Regions from separate parts of the Homo sapiens genome. Here all the other regions are linked to region 2. Evidence: promoter capture Hi-C in human tissues and cell types (Jung and others, 2019). All regions are on one chromosome and are shown on one strand. The core of a region is centred on a gene start or on the middle of the fragment in contact, and the rest is flanking DNA. Distances in the headings are between cores, read along the strand shown.

Region 1 (2,700 bases), core at 121-2,620, 300 kb after region 2:
CATTAGTTGTTGCAGAAAAATTTGACTCAAAGAAGGGAAAGTTCCTGCAGGGGGTCTCTGAAAGATAACGATGTTGAGTGTTTAGGATGAGAAGCAAGGCGCCGCTCTGGGAATTCTACGTGAAAATCACAGAGCATCTCAAGGATGGGGGAAGCAGGCCTCTAGTGAATAAATGACAAAGCAACACTCCAGGAGTCAGTGTTAGCTCAGACTCTGTGTCCTGGCTGACCAGTTCTAGACTCTTCTGGGCTCCTCCTCAATGAATGGTAACCCTCTGTCCCTGGGTGCTCTGATAACCATGAGAGAGAGGCCATCAGCCAAGTCTTAGGGGCCCCTGCAGGACAAGAGGAGGGGGAAGAAAAGGAAAGCAAGAGAGAGTCTGAGGCAGAAAAGAGGGCAAACCAAGAACCGAAAAAAGGAAAGAGTTGGAATTGGCACCACGTGGTGATTTGCAGTTTACAAAGCTACATAGACATTATTGGAGCTTATTCTGCATCCCGCTCCCTGTTTTTTTGTTTTTTTTTTTTAAGACAGAGTCTCGCTTTGTCACCCAGGCTGGAGTGCAGTGGCATGATCTCAGCTCACTGCAACCTGTCTCCTGGGTTCAAATGATTCTCCTGCCTTAGCCTCCTGAGTAGCTGGGATTACAGGTGCACACCACCACACCTGATATATATATATATATATTTGTATTTTTAGTAGACACAGGGTTTCACCATGTTGGCCAGGCTGGTCTTGAACTCCTGACCTCAAGTAATCCACCGCCTTGGGCTCCCAAAGTACTGGGATTACAGGCATGAGCCACTGTGCCCGGCCATATTTTCCCCACTTTTTAGATGAGGAAACTGATACTCAAAATGTGTAAGTGGCTTTACCAAGATCACATAGCTAGTAAATGGCAAAGACACAACTTAAACTCAGCTCTCCTGATTTCCTGCCTGTATGCCTGGTGGTGCATTGCACATATGTTGTTAGGGAGAGGTTGGAAAAGGGCCACCCACGTTGTTGCAAGAGTCACTAACAGTGTCACAGGCCACTTAGGATAAAGAGCAGCTGTTTGTTTGTTGCCCATATATGCATTTAACCATTATTTGGTGACTTTTATGGTCTAAAGGTGGAAAACAAACAGGCAATTATAAACAGTGTGATAACTGTCAGCAGAGTCACATGTTTCTAGGAGAGTAAATTGGAGGCAACCACCCTATCTAGTTTGGTGGCATTTCTAGGAGAGTAAATAGGAGGCAACCACCCTATCTAGTTTGGTGGCAATCAGATAAACTTCCTAGTGCCAGTGACATCCAAGCAGTGAGCTGGAGGACCCGGGTGGTGAGGTGAGGAGGTTCTAGAAGAAAACACTGGATACAGAGGCTCCAGAAAGCAGTATCTAGAAACAAAGTGAAATGAGTTTGGGAGTTGACTCTGGAGAGGAAAGCAAAGTTCATACCTTAACAAGCTTTGCAATCCAATTAGATAATTGGACTTCAGCCTGAGGGCAAAGCGAAGCCCTCAGGGAAATCACTGGATTAGATGCGCATTTTGGACAGTCACTCTTGCTGCAGTGTGAAGAATGGATTGGCCAGGGACAAGACTAGAGGCAGAGAGATCAGGAGGAAGCTTTGCCCTAATGCAAGGAAGAGGTGTTGCAATCATCTCCAGCTTCTTGTTTCTCACAGTTTTGGAGGCTGAGAAACCCCAAATCAAGGCTCCAGCAGATTTGGTATCTGGTGAGGGCCCACTTCCTGGTTCAGAGACCGCCGTCTTCTTACTGTGTCCTCAGGTGGCTGAAAGAGCTCCGGAGCTCTCTGGGGTCTCTTTTATAAGGGCACTAATGCCATTATCGAGGGCTCCACTCCTATGACTTAACTACCATCCGAAAGCCCCACCTTCGAATACCATCACATTGTGGGTTAGGATTTCAACATGTGAATTGAGGTGATAACACAAACATTCAGTCCCTAACAAGACACTTACAGGCTGGAACCAGGGATGGAAAGAAGTAGATTGATTGGCAAGGGATTAATATGGCCCAGCAGCTAGAACCTGGTGATTGCTTGGATATCGGGGGGGAGGTGTGTGTGTAGGAAAATGGGAGCATAAAGACCCCATCTGCGGAGCGAGGGAACATTGGAGGGGAGCAGGCTTTTCAGAGTGAGACAAAGAAGTCCAGAGAAATAAGCTCAAGTTGGGATGTAATGATACCAAACAATATTTTCTCCACACTCACTATGGGCCACGTGCTGTTCACTCATTGTCTCCTTTCATTCTGACAATAATAACTCACATTTACTGAGCCCTAGTATCACAGGCCAGTAAGAGGCCATGCCAATAACTTTACATTAATTGACTTATTTACCCAGTTAACTAATGAGTTGGGATCTCTTATTATCCCTCATTTTACAGATAAGGAGGTGGAGGTTCACAGAAATCAAGTAATTTATCTCAGCTCCATCACTAATAATAAGCCAAGAGATGAACCAGGGGCCAGGCATGGTGGCTCACGCCTATAATCCCAGCACTTTGGGAGGCCAAGGCAGGTGAATTACTTGAGGTCAGGAGTTCAAGACTAGCCTGGCCAACATGGAGAAACCCCATCTCTACTAAAAATACAAAAATTAGCTGGGCATGGTAGTGGGCGCCTGCAATCCCAGCTACTCGGGAGGCTGAGGCAGGAGAATTGCTTGAACCCAGAGGGCAGAGGTT
Region 2 (2,700 bases), core at 136-2,635:
GGAGTCAAGGGCGGTGCGGTGCTCGGAGGGGGTCCGGGGGGCGCTGACCATGGTCCTGGCCTCGGAGCTCGGGACGTGAGCGCAGAAGGCGCGGGCGGAGGCTGTAGGGAGCGGCCGTCCGAACCCCCGCCCCTCCCGACCACCGGGGAGCCGCGGGCCTTCACGCAAAGCCTCCACCGCACGCTCTGAGCCGCTCAAAAAAAGGGTGGGGCACCCAGCCGCAGCTGCAATCGGAAGCCGCCCGGGAGGGTTTCAGAAGAATGGAACCGCGGCCAACCCCCTCCCAGACGACCACCGCCCGCCCCAGCAGGGGATCAGCCCATTCCCTATGCCCACGCCCCACCTCTCAAGCTCAAGGAGACGCGGGCAGCCTTTGTGGGCGCACGGCCGCCCACCGCCCAGCCCGAGCCTCGCCGCACCCTGCGCGGAGAAGGGGCGGGTAGGGCGGGGTGCGCGTGCAGATGCGGGAGGCGAGGTCCAGGGCGGGGCATGAAGGCGGGCGCGCCGGGCTCAGGGGCGAGGGAGGGGCGATCCCCGCGCCCCGTCCTCCGTCTCCACCCCCAACCCCCACACCGACCTGGTCGTTGATGTTCTGCAGGGCTTCTTTGCCCGAGGCCCTCCGGATCTCCACCTTCCGGCCCGATTCAACAGATGGCTCTCCGCCGGCGCGCCGGCCCTGCCGCGAGTACGGCGGCTGCGGGTCCGGGCCCAAGTGGGCGACGTCCCGCTGCTGAGCCACCACCTGCCCCGAGCCCCGGCCCACCGACAGCGAGTCGAAGTCGATGGTCTTGTTCTCCGAGGACCCTTCCACCGGGCAGAACATGCCACAGAATTTCTGCCGGGGCTTGGGGCTGCCGGAGCCCAGGTTTTTAAAAAAAGCAGGGACCTCTTCGTCCTCTGCCGCCTTCCCGGATTGCTTTCTCTCGGCCATGGCTCGGGGGCTCGGGTAGGGTCCTCGCCGTCCGTCCGTCCGTCTGCCAGTCCCTAAGTCTCCCTCGCTGTGTGCACAAGCCCCCTAGCTGCTGCCGCGGCTGCCGTTCGCCGCCCACCGCAAGGTGCACAGAAAGGAAGGAGGGCTGGCGAGCCGGCGACCCACCCTCCCGGTCCCTCCCCCTGACCCCGCTTCTCCCCTCCCTGCCCACGCCCCCCGCGGCTACAGCGCGAGCTCGGGGAAGCGGCAAAGTTGGATCTGGGAGGGCGTCCGCTGCGGCTGCGGGAGCCGAAAGGCTGCCAGTTCCCGGCAGCGCTGGGAGGAGGGAGGCGCGGGCGGGGCGCGGCGCCGGGGAGGGGAGCGGTGCTCAGGGGAGGGCTGGAGGGGAGGGAAGGAGAGAGAGAGGGGAGGGCGGCACCGCCCCTAGCCCCGCGCTCCGGAAGTGAAGCGGCCAGACCACCAGCTAATGGATGCGGAGCGGAGGGCCCGCTGACCGCTCTCCGCGCCTGGGTAAGTATCGGGCAGGGCACGCGGAGTGAGGACCGGAGGACGCAGCCCCCAGCCCCAGTGCCCCTCTCCTCCACCTGCCTGGCCCAGGCGCCTCTGCCCCGCCGCATGGCGGAGGTGGGCCGGGGGCGAGGGCGCACTGTGGATAGGGGTCCCGCCCCGTTACCCTGGGTGTGAGCTGATGGATGGGAAAAGGGGACAAGCCGGGCGCCAGGCTACTCAGGGTGTGGGAAGCGGGATGGCACTGAAGATGAGCAAGGATAGCACAGGCAGGGTGGACAGGAGGGGGGCAGCCAAGACGCTGGACACCCCAGCTTCAGTTTGTCCACTCGCCTTGGCAGGCTGCAGGGAGCAGAGACTGAAACGAGAAGGTTCCCGCTTCGTGCATCCACTTTGGTGTGGTTGGGGTGACGGGGGAGTGGGGGGGGGGCACACAACATGGCGGGAAGAAATTCAGAGGGGCGTAGCAGATGGGAGAGGAATATAGAGAGAGACGCAGGTCTGCGGTCTATGGGGGTGTAGCAAAGAGTGCAGTCGGGAATTCCAGCCCAGGGCCACGACTTAAAGACGGGGTGCAGACCGACTCTATTGCGCAAGGCGCCATGGACCGTGTCTGCGCCACTGCGCCAAGAAGGGCGCAGGAACGTGTCGCGATTTGGTTTATTCTGCTTCCTCCACCAAAAAAAAAAAAAAAAAAAAAAAAAGAGAGAAAAAACAAACTGAAACCCCCTTCCCAAATCTCCAGCTTTCCCCTGCGCCCCAGAGCCCCGCCTGGTTCCCCCGCCCCTGTTGCGCACTGCGCCACAGTCGCAGCGTTTCCCGGGTTACCAGATGCCACGTGTTTGGGGAGTAAGTGCGGGTGCGCATCTGGTGCGGAGTAGGAGGTAGGATGTGGGCTGTGAGTGCCATGAATTGTGTGGGGCCAAGCAGGGGAAAGGTGTGTAGGAACTTGGTGTGTGTGTGCAGTAGCTGAGCCACGGCCACCGGGTTGGTAAGTAACCAGGGGGCAATTAGATTTGTGTGCCTAACACGGTCAATGCTGGTCCTTCATTGCTTATTCCCATCTCCACGTCCTTTCCGCGTATCAGTCCCTGCCTCTGCGCGATGACAGCTCCGCCTCTCTTTCCACAGTGGCAAAATCCTGCAGAAATGGTGCCCCTCCTTTGGTGGCCCGGGAGGGAGTTCTGGGCATGCTCAGTAACCAGGGTGGGTTTGGGCTGAGAGGCCGTTTACCGCAGGGCCACCGCGTAGGGCCGTGTAAC
Region 3 (2,798 bases), core at 220-2,719, 460 kb after region 2:
TTCATTTCATGCATTTTCTACAGATGAGGAGCTACCCAGGGACCAGTGGGAGTCACTCCACCAGCATGCCCTAACTCAGAGCAGACGGACCTGGAGATGGCATGGGGAGCTGAGTTCTACCTGTGCCTCCCAGCTGTGCACTGGGCACAGGGAGAGGCTCAGGGTGAGGGCCTACTCTGACACACATAATATTATCTGTTTGGGATGTATCCTAAACACGGTATGGGTGCTACAGAGATTGACCCTAAGGAGGGCAGAGGAACCCTAAATAAAATATCACTGTTGCAGTTAACATTAGGTTGTCCTAAGAAATATAAAGATAAAACTCTCAGACATGGGCTGGGCATGGTGGCTCATGCCCGTAATCCCAGCACTTTGGGAGGCTGAGGCGGGTGGATCACCTGAGGTCAGGAGTCCTAGACCAGCCTGGCTAACATGGTGACACCCTGTCTCTACTAAAAATACAAAAATTAGCTGGGCATGGTGGTGCACACCTGTAGTCCCAGCTACTCGGGAGGCTAAGGTATGAGAATCACTTGAACCTGAGAGGCAGAGGTTGCAGTGAGTAGAGATTGAGCCACTGCACTCCACTTTGGGCAACAGAGACTCCATCTCAAAAAAAAAAAACAAAACCCTCCGACATGAAGATGAAGCTCCCTGGTACGGCTGCTTGTAGTTGTAGCTGCCTTCCTGTTCTCCATAGCCCATTGGAGCTTAAATCTAGAGAAGTAAAATGCACAATAACCTAAAGCTTCTGATTCTTTTTTCATTAAGGCCTGGAGGATCTGAATAAAAATCCATCTGGGACTCAGTCTCAACTCCCATTACCTGAAAAACAATAAAAAATTTCTAAACTATATCATCATTATGTTTTATACATGAAAACAGTGAAGCATGCTGATGTTAAGTAGCTCACCCCAAATATTCAAATTCACTCCCCTCTGTAGGAAGAGCACTGAATATGTAAAGTCCTTAGACATAGAAAGAGAATTGGCAGTTTAAAGAAAGAGATCATTTATGAACCATTGTAGAACTACTGGGAAAATAACACTTTAAACAACTTAAATTGTCATTTCAATGAGAGTAAAAATACTGGGAATTAACACTTAAAGATTCTAAACAATTCTTGGGAAGTTTTACCAAACAGAACTGTAATGGAGGCAGTGATATTGTTGTAAAAAATGATAATATCCACATGTCATGTCCAAGAAACTTCTCAAATACTGAGAAATATAATTTTTAAAAGCCCATTATTGCTGGAAACTAGACAGAGGTGCTATTCTCATATAATAAACTTTAAGGAATTTCTCTAAGACATATTACAGGCGTGAGTGGATGGAGGGGAAGGTTCATCCATACAGTCTTCAGTTCTATCTAGAAGAGCTGAAGACTATGTAGGCTGTTGTTAAAGTACCCTTTCTGAAAAAATTCTTACAGGCTCATGTCAAAGCTTTATTTCAGATTTGCCCTGGGGAAAGAAGGTCCTGAGCCAGCCATTGCAGATTTTTTTCTTTGAAGAAGAGGTTGTAGAAAAATACAATAAGGCAGTGCCAGTTAATGTTATCAGACTCTTCTCAAGACTGATAGCTTCTCAGAAGATGCTCTTGAGCTCAATAAAGTCTACCAAAAAATCACACAAGGATGCTAATTATTTCCCAGAAGGAATTATAAATTATATCACATACATAAAGAAAATTGTGTCCCAGACCATATTTGGGACAATTTTCTTTCTTGCCATGCTACAAGGCATTTGGTGGTATAATAGTTCAGTTATAGCTCATTTAATGGAGAAAACAGAATCTGGACCACTATTTTAGACAATGTCACAAGTTAATCTCATATGCATGGGATTAAACATGTGGATGTAAAAGACGAAATTAGAAGTGTTGGATTTTTTTGTGTAATTTTGAGGTGTAGAAAGACTTCTTAAGTAGGACTCCAAAGCACAAAAGTGGACGGAATTGACCAGATAAAAATAAAGCATTGCTAATCAGCAGAGGACAACACTGACCAAGTTATAGACAAATGACAGATTAAGAGATAATATCTGTAACATCTAAAACTGACAATTAACATCTAAACATATAAAATCCTTCCGCCAATCATCAACATCAACAGCAGCAGAAGCAGCAGCAACAACCATCTCCAAGGCTGAAAATCCAGTGGAAAAATGCTATCAATAAGTGGTTAATTGGTGGGGGATCCAAATGGTTAAAAAACGTTTGAAGAGATGCTCAACTTCACCAGCAAGCAAAGAAATGCACATTAAAACAACAGCAAGATATATCTTTATACCCATCAGATTTGCCAAAATTACAAAGTCAGATAATACCAAGTTTCTGGTGCCCTGTTGATGGGAGTATAAATTAGAAAAGTCTGGAGGAATAAAAATAAAACAGGACATTTAGGTTGGTTCCAAGTCCATCGGGGGGTGGGTGGCTAGGGGAGGGATAACGTTAGGAGAAACACCTAATGTAGGTGGTGGGTTGATGGGTGCAGCAAACCACCATGGCACATGTATACCTATGTAACAAAACTGCACGTTTTGCACATATAACCCACAACTTAAAGTATTAAAAATAAATAAATAAAACAGGATGCAAAATGAAAATATTCAACTCTGGCAATGGGAAAAAATTGTTTCAGATACAGAAAATTAAAGTTATAGCAGAATACAAGGTACAGCTCTATGGTAATGTATTTAAAAATATTAATGATATAGATTATTTTATATGAGAATAAAAATTATCCAAATATACTCAGTAAGTGATAGAAAACCTGAATAAATCATTAACCAT
Region 4 (2,726 bases), core at 94-2,593, 400 kb after region 2:
GGATGGGTAGTCTGTACCCCTTAAGAAGCCACTCTCCATCTCCACCCACAGCTTCTAGCAACAACAATTCTGCTTTCTGTTTCTATGAATTCACCTCTTCTGGATATTTCATATAAATGGAATAATACACAAAATGTGACTTTTTGTCTGCTGTCTCTCATAGCACGTTTTCAAGGTTTATCCATGTTGTAGCATCTATCAGCACTTCATTCCTTTCCATGGCTGAATAATACTCCACTGTATGGATATGCCACATTTTGCTTATCCCTTCATTTGCTGATGGACATTTGGATTGTATCCACTTTTTGGCTACTATGCAGAATGCTGCTATGAACATTCATGTACTTTTTTTTTTTTTTTTTTTTTTCCTGAGGCAGAGTCTCACTCTGTGACCCAGGTTGGAGTGCAGTGGCGTGATCTTGGCTCACTGCAGCCGCGACCTTCCTGGGCTTAGGTGATCCCTTGACCTCAACCTCCCAAGTAGCTGGGATTACAGGTGTGTGCCACTTGGCCTGGCTAATTTTTGTATTGGTATTTTTATTTTATTTTATTGAGACAGAGTCTCGCTCTGTTGCCCAGGCTGGAGTGCAGTGGTGCGATTTTGGCTCACTGCAACCTTCGCCTCCCAGATTCAAGCAATTCTCCTGCCTCAGCCTCCTGAGTAGCTGGGATTACAGGTACCCACCACCACGTCTGGCTTATTTTTTTGTATTTTTAGTAGAGACAGGGTTTCACCATGTTGGCCAGGCTGGTCTCAAACTCCTGACCTCAAGTGATTTGCCCGCCCCGCCCTCCCAAAGTGCTGGGATTACAGGTGTGAGCCACTGCTCCCAGCCTAGTTTTTGTATTTTGTAGTATAGACGGGGTTTCATCATGTTGGCCAGGCTGGTCTTGAACTCCTGACCTCAGGTGATCTGTCTGCTTCCGCTTGCCATGGTGCTAGAATTACAGATGTGAGCGACTGTGCCCAGCCTCATGTACAAATTTTTGTTTTAATGCCTGGTTTCAATTACTTTGGTTGTATACATAGGAGTAGAGTTGCTGGGTCATATGGTAACTCTATCTTTAACTTTTTGTGGCACTGCCAAGCTATTTTCTACAGTGGCTGCACCATTTTACAATCCTACCAGCAATGTTCCTGTTTCTCCACCTCCTTGCCAACAGTTGTGATTTTCCTTTTTTTTTTTTTTAAATATGGCATTCTAGTGGATGTAAGTTGGTATTTCATTGTGATTTTAATTTGCATATATATATATATATATATATATATACATATATATATATATATATTTTTTTTTTTTGAAACAGTGTCTTTCTCTGTCGCCCAGGCTGGAGTGCAGTGGCAGGATCTTGGCTCACTGCAACCTCTGCCTCCCAGGTTCAAGTGATTCTCATGCCTGTAGCTGGGACTATGGGTGTGAGCCACCATGCCCGGCTAATTTTTGTGTTTTTAGTAGAGATGGGGTTTCACCATGTTGGCCAGGCTGGTCTCGAACTCCTGACCTCAGGTGATCCACCCACCTTGGCCTCCCAAAGTACTGGGATTACATATGTGAGCCACTGTGCATGGCGATTTGCATTTTCTTAATGACTAATGTTGAACATCTTTTCATCTGCTTCTTGGCTATTTCTGTATCTTTGGGGAACTGTCTATTCAAGTCCTTTGCCCATTTTTAAATTGAGTTGCTTGTCATTTTTAATGAGTTGTAAGAGTTATATATTCTGGATACTAGACCTTTATACACTCAGATGTATAAGTTGCAAATATTTTCTCCCATTCTGTAGGTTGTCTTTTTGCTTTCTTGCTAGTATTCTTTGATACACAAAAGTTCTTAATTTTGATGAAGTCTGATTTATGTATTTTTAATTTTGTTGACTGTGCTTTTGGTCTCATATCTAAGAATCCATTGCTAAGTTCAACATACACCCTTGTTTTCTTCTAAGAGTTTTGTAATTTTCACTCTTACATTTAGGTCTTTGATATTTTGAGTTAATTTTTGTTTGTGTTGAGAGTTAGGCATTGATATTTTTAAAAGCTTCTGTAATGATTCTTTTTGTTGTTATTGTTGTTGGTAGACGGAGATTTGTTGGAGAATTTGTGGAAGCACAGTCTTTGGTGGCAGCAAGCCAGGTAGGTCTTCTTCTATAATGACTCTAATGGAAGCCAAGGTTGAGAATCACTGCTGTAAATGGCTGAGAAGGAGGGGCTGGAGTCTAGCTATAGATACCTATCTGAAGAAGGCGTGATGGAATTGAGCTAAAAGGCAAGAGTTGGTGCTTTCTGAGTTACCAGTTTGCTTTGGAGAGAATCAAGTTTGCTCCTGAAAGCCTTAGGAAGACATTTAAAGATATCAGGAGGGCTCATTCCTCTGACGGCTAGAGCTAGGGTACTCCTTTGAGGGTGTCTGGAGTCTGGTTGGGGAGGACACAGAACTGAACCAGCAGATGAGGTTAGTGGTTTCCGTGTGAGAGGAGAAACCAGAACCCACATGTTCTGAAACTTGCTCTGGATAGTCGGCAGGTAGACATTAGGCAATAGCAAGTCTCCCTACACCTGTTCCTAGTAACAGGTGCCTGTGGTAGGGCAGCAGAATCACCCTACATGCTTGGGGATTGAATTGTTTTCTTATAAAGTACACTGATTGCTAAGAGCTCTTATATGTGACTCATATAGGGATTACTAGCTTTGCAAACTTTAAAAGTCATCTGAAGATAAACAATTCCAT
Region 5 (2,700 bases), core at 41-2,540, 350 kb after region 2:
TTTTGTGTTGCCATTGTGAATGAAAAACACGATGTTGGAACCCCAACTCACTATGCCAAAGGGACAGTTAAGCTTGGAAACTGAGTTATGCAAAAAACAAACAACAACAACAACAACAACAACAAAAACTGCCTTTCTGTTTGTTCCTAAACCATCTATCTAGCTGCAGTGATCAAAGGCCATGTATCTCCCCAGGTAGTGCTTTCACAAATTGCTTTCAAGGAAATTCCTTGTGGGCCCTCAAATCTTTCAGTTAACTAATCCTAAAACAGAGGTCTGTTGAATTTCATCCTGACAATACAAATTAATAGCTTATATTCACAGGTATCGGACAAGGACAAGACCGGAGCCATCCCTCCACCCACCCCACGACAAATGCATAATTGACTGCTTCCTCTACTTTATGTTTATCTTATGTAAAATGTAGATTTACTGAGCATGAGATGAATGCATAATTGACTGTTCCTCTACTCTGTTTATCTTATGTAAAATGTAGATTTACTGAGCATGAGATGAATGCATAATTGACTGCTCCTCTACCTCCACTTTTCACATGTAAAATGTAGATTCAGTGAGCACTAATCAAAGCCTCCCCAGAATGTACCTGCCTCATTGCCTACCTTCCCTCCTTTATTTCTTTCCTCCTTCACCTCTTGGTTGCTCTTTCCCTTTTAAATATTGAAGTCCTCAAAACTCTCTCAGAAAAGTCACAGGTCACAGGTGCTCCTGTGACTTGTGGTCACTGCCCCCTTCCCCTACAACCCAGGTACATCCTCAACTTTGGTAAAATAAACCTCTAAATTGATTGATACTTGCCTCAGTCTTTTCTGGAGGTTAGGCATCTACATCTGGTGAGGGCCTTCGGCTGCTTCCACTCACAGAGAAGTTGAAGGGGAGCCGGCGTGTGCAGAGATCACATGGTGAGAGAGGAAGCAGGAGAGAGGCAGAAGGTGCCAGGCTCTCTTTAACAACCAGCTTTCACAGAACTAACAGAGTGAAAACTCACCCACTCCCCACCCCCAGGAAAGGCTATGATCTATTTATGAGGACGAACCAAACATCTCCTAATATACCAAACACCACCATATTTGGGATCAAATTTCAATGTGAGATTTGGTGGGGATGAATAAACCACAGCAGATGTTAACTCCAGAAAATTAGTGTCAAAATTGAAGGACACTCAGTTGGTGTCTTTGCTGAAAATTGGAGAACTGCTTGGCATGGAAAAAACCCATATATTTGTTGTCAGAAGTGTTGAGGATAGAGAAAAACTGAATTGTTTTTTCTTTCCTTTTAGGCACCCTGTGCCAAACATGCATGCACTTCTTGCCTGCTGGGCTCTCAATTCTGCTCTGGTGCCCCCATCCCCACACCCCCTTGTCCCACCTACCTTACTCTGCCCCTCCTAATGGCTTTAGGGCTAAATTGTTTCAGGATAGGAAGGGGAAGGGAAAAGAAAGAAGAAGAGAAAAAAATCAGCTATAAACTCACTCACCTAAAGCAACTACTTTCATTTTAGTTCACTTCCAGTCTTGACCTAGCATATACACAGACAGTCCTCAACTTACAATGGTTCAATTTACAATTTTTTTACTCTACGATGGTGCAAAAACGAGGCACATTCAGTAGAAACCGCACTTTTTGAATTTTGAATTTTGGTCTTTTCCCAGGCAAGTGATATACAGAATGATACTCTCTTGTGATGCTGAGCCAAATCATCTAACACAAAGCCTATTTTATAATAAAGTGTTGACTATCTCATGTAATTTTTTGGATACTGAAAGTGTTCTGAGCATGTTTAAGTAGGGTAGGTGATATGGTTTGGCTGTGTCACCATGCAAATCTCATCTTGAATTGTGACTCCCACAATTCCCATGTGTTGTGGGAGGAACCCAGTGGGAGGTGATTTAATTATGGGATAGGGTCTTTACTGCACTGTTCTCATGGTAGTGAATGAGTCTTACGAGATCTCATGGTTTTAAAAATGGGAGTTTCCCTGCACAAGCTCAAGCTCTCTCTTTGCCTGGCACCATCCGTGTAAGATGTGACTTCCTTCTCCTTGCCTTCTGCCGTGATTGTGAGACCTCTCCAGCCCATGTGGAATGTAAGTCCATTAAACCTCTTTTTCTTTCCAGTCTAGAGTATGTCTTTATCAGCAGCATGAAAACGGACTAATACAGTAAACTGGTACCAATTGAGTAGGGCACTGCTGAAAGATACCCAAAAATGTGGAAGCAACTTTGGAACTGGGTAACAGGCAGAAGTTGGAACAGTTTAGAGGGCTCAGAAGAAGACAAGAAAATGTGGGAAAGTTTGGAACTTCTAAGAGACTTGTTGAATGGCTTTGACAAAAATGCTGACAGTAATATGAATGATAAGGTCCAGGCTGAGATGGTCTCAGATGGAGATGAAGAACTTGTTGAGAACTGGAGCAAAGGTGACTCTTGTTATGTTTTAACCAAGAGACTGGCAGAATTTTGCCCCTGCCCTAGAGATTTGTGGAACTTTAAATTTGAGAAAGATGATTTAGGGTATCTGGTGGAAGAAATTTCTAAGCAGCAAAGCATTCAAAAGATGACTTGGGTGCTCTAAGAGCAATCAGTTTTAAAAGAGAAACAGAGCATAAATGTTTGGAAAATTTGCAGCTCGACAATGTGATAGAAAAGAAAATCCCATTTTCTGAGGAGAAATTCAAGCTGG

Evidence for each region. The method cuts DNA at HindIII sites, captures the fragments that hold promoters and counts their contacts. A contact is called where the count stands out against the background at its distance.
Region 1: a fragment that was not itself captured here is called in contact with the fragment with the promoter of PNMA2 in region 2 in 2 of the 25 tissues and cell types used here (bladder and stomach).
Region 3: a contact is called between a fragment that was not itself captured here and the fragment with the promoter of PNMA2 in region 2, in 2 of the 25 tissues and cell types used here (IMR-90 fibroblasts and stomach).
Region 4: a contact is called between a fragment that was not itself captured here and the fragment with the promoter of PNMA2 in region 2, in 2 of the 25 tissues and cell types used here (IMR-90 fibroblasts and aorta).
Region 5: a contact is called between a fragment that was not itself captured here and the fragment with the promoter of PNMA2 in region 2, in 2 of the 25 tissues and cell types used here (dorsolateral prefrontal cortex and hippocampus).

What each region holds. Positions count from the first base shown.
Region 1 is chr8:26,211,896-26,214,595 of GRCh38, reverse strand. No RefSeq gene overlaps it. Among named protein-coding and RNA genes, the nearest start is that of PPP2R2A, 78 kb to the left of the region's middle. The HindIII fragment of the contact is 5,840 bases long and covers 1-2,700 here.
Region 2 is chr8:26,512,557-26,515,256 of GRCh38, reverse strand. PNMA2 (PNMA family member 2) reads left to right here and starts at 1,385. Exons shown (of 3, transcript NM_007257.6): 1 at 1,385-1,441. DPYSL2 (dihydropyrimidinase like 2) reads right to left here and starts at 1,226. Exons shown (of 14, transcript NM_001197293.3): 1 at 578-1,226. The coding sequence starts at 931. RefSeq lists an enhancer at 2,271-2,700. The HindIII fragment of the contact is 13,621 bases long and covers 1-2,700 here.
Region 3 is chr8:26,056,476-26,059,273 of GRCh38, reverse strand. No RefSeq gene overlaps it. Among named protein-coding and RNA genes, the nearest start is that of EBF2, 12 kb to the right of the region's middle. The HindIII fragment of the contact is 4,310 bases long and covers 1-2,798 here.
Region 4 is chr8:26,110,934-26,113,659 of GRCh38, reverse strand. No RefSeq gene overlaps it. Among named protein-coding and RNA genes, the nearest start is that of EBF2, 67 kb to the right of the region's middle. The HindIII fragment of the contact is 8,659 bases long and covers 1-2,726 here.
Region 5 is chr8:26,159,663-26,162,362 of GRCh38, reverse strand. All of the region lies in intron 2 of LOC105379336 (a long non-coding RNA gene), which reads left to right. Among named protein-coding and RNA genes, the nearest start is that of EBF2, 120 kb to the right of the region's middle. The HindIII fragment of the contact is 3,893 bases long and covers 1-2,700 here.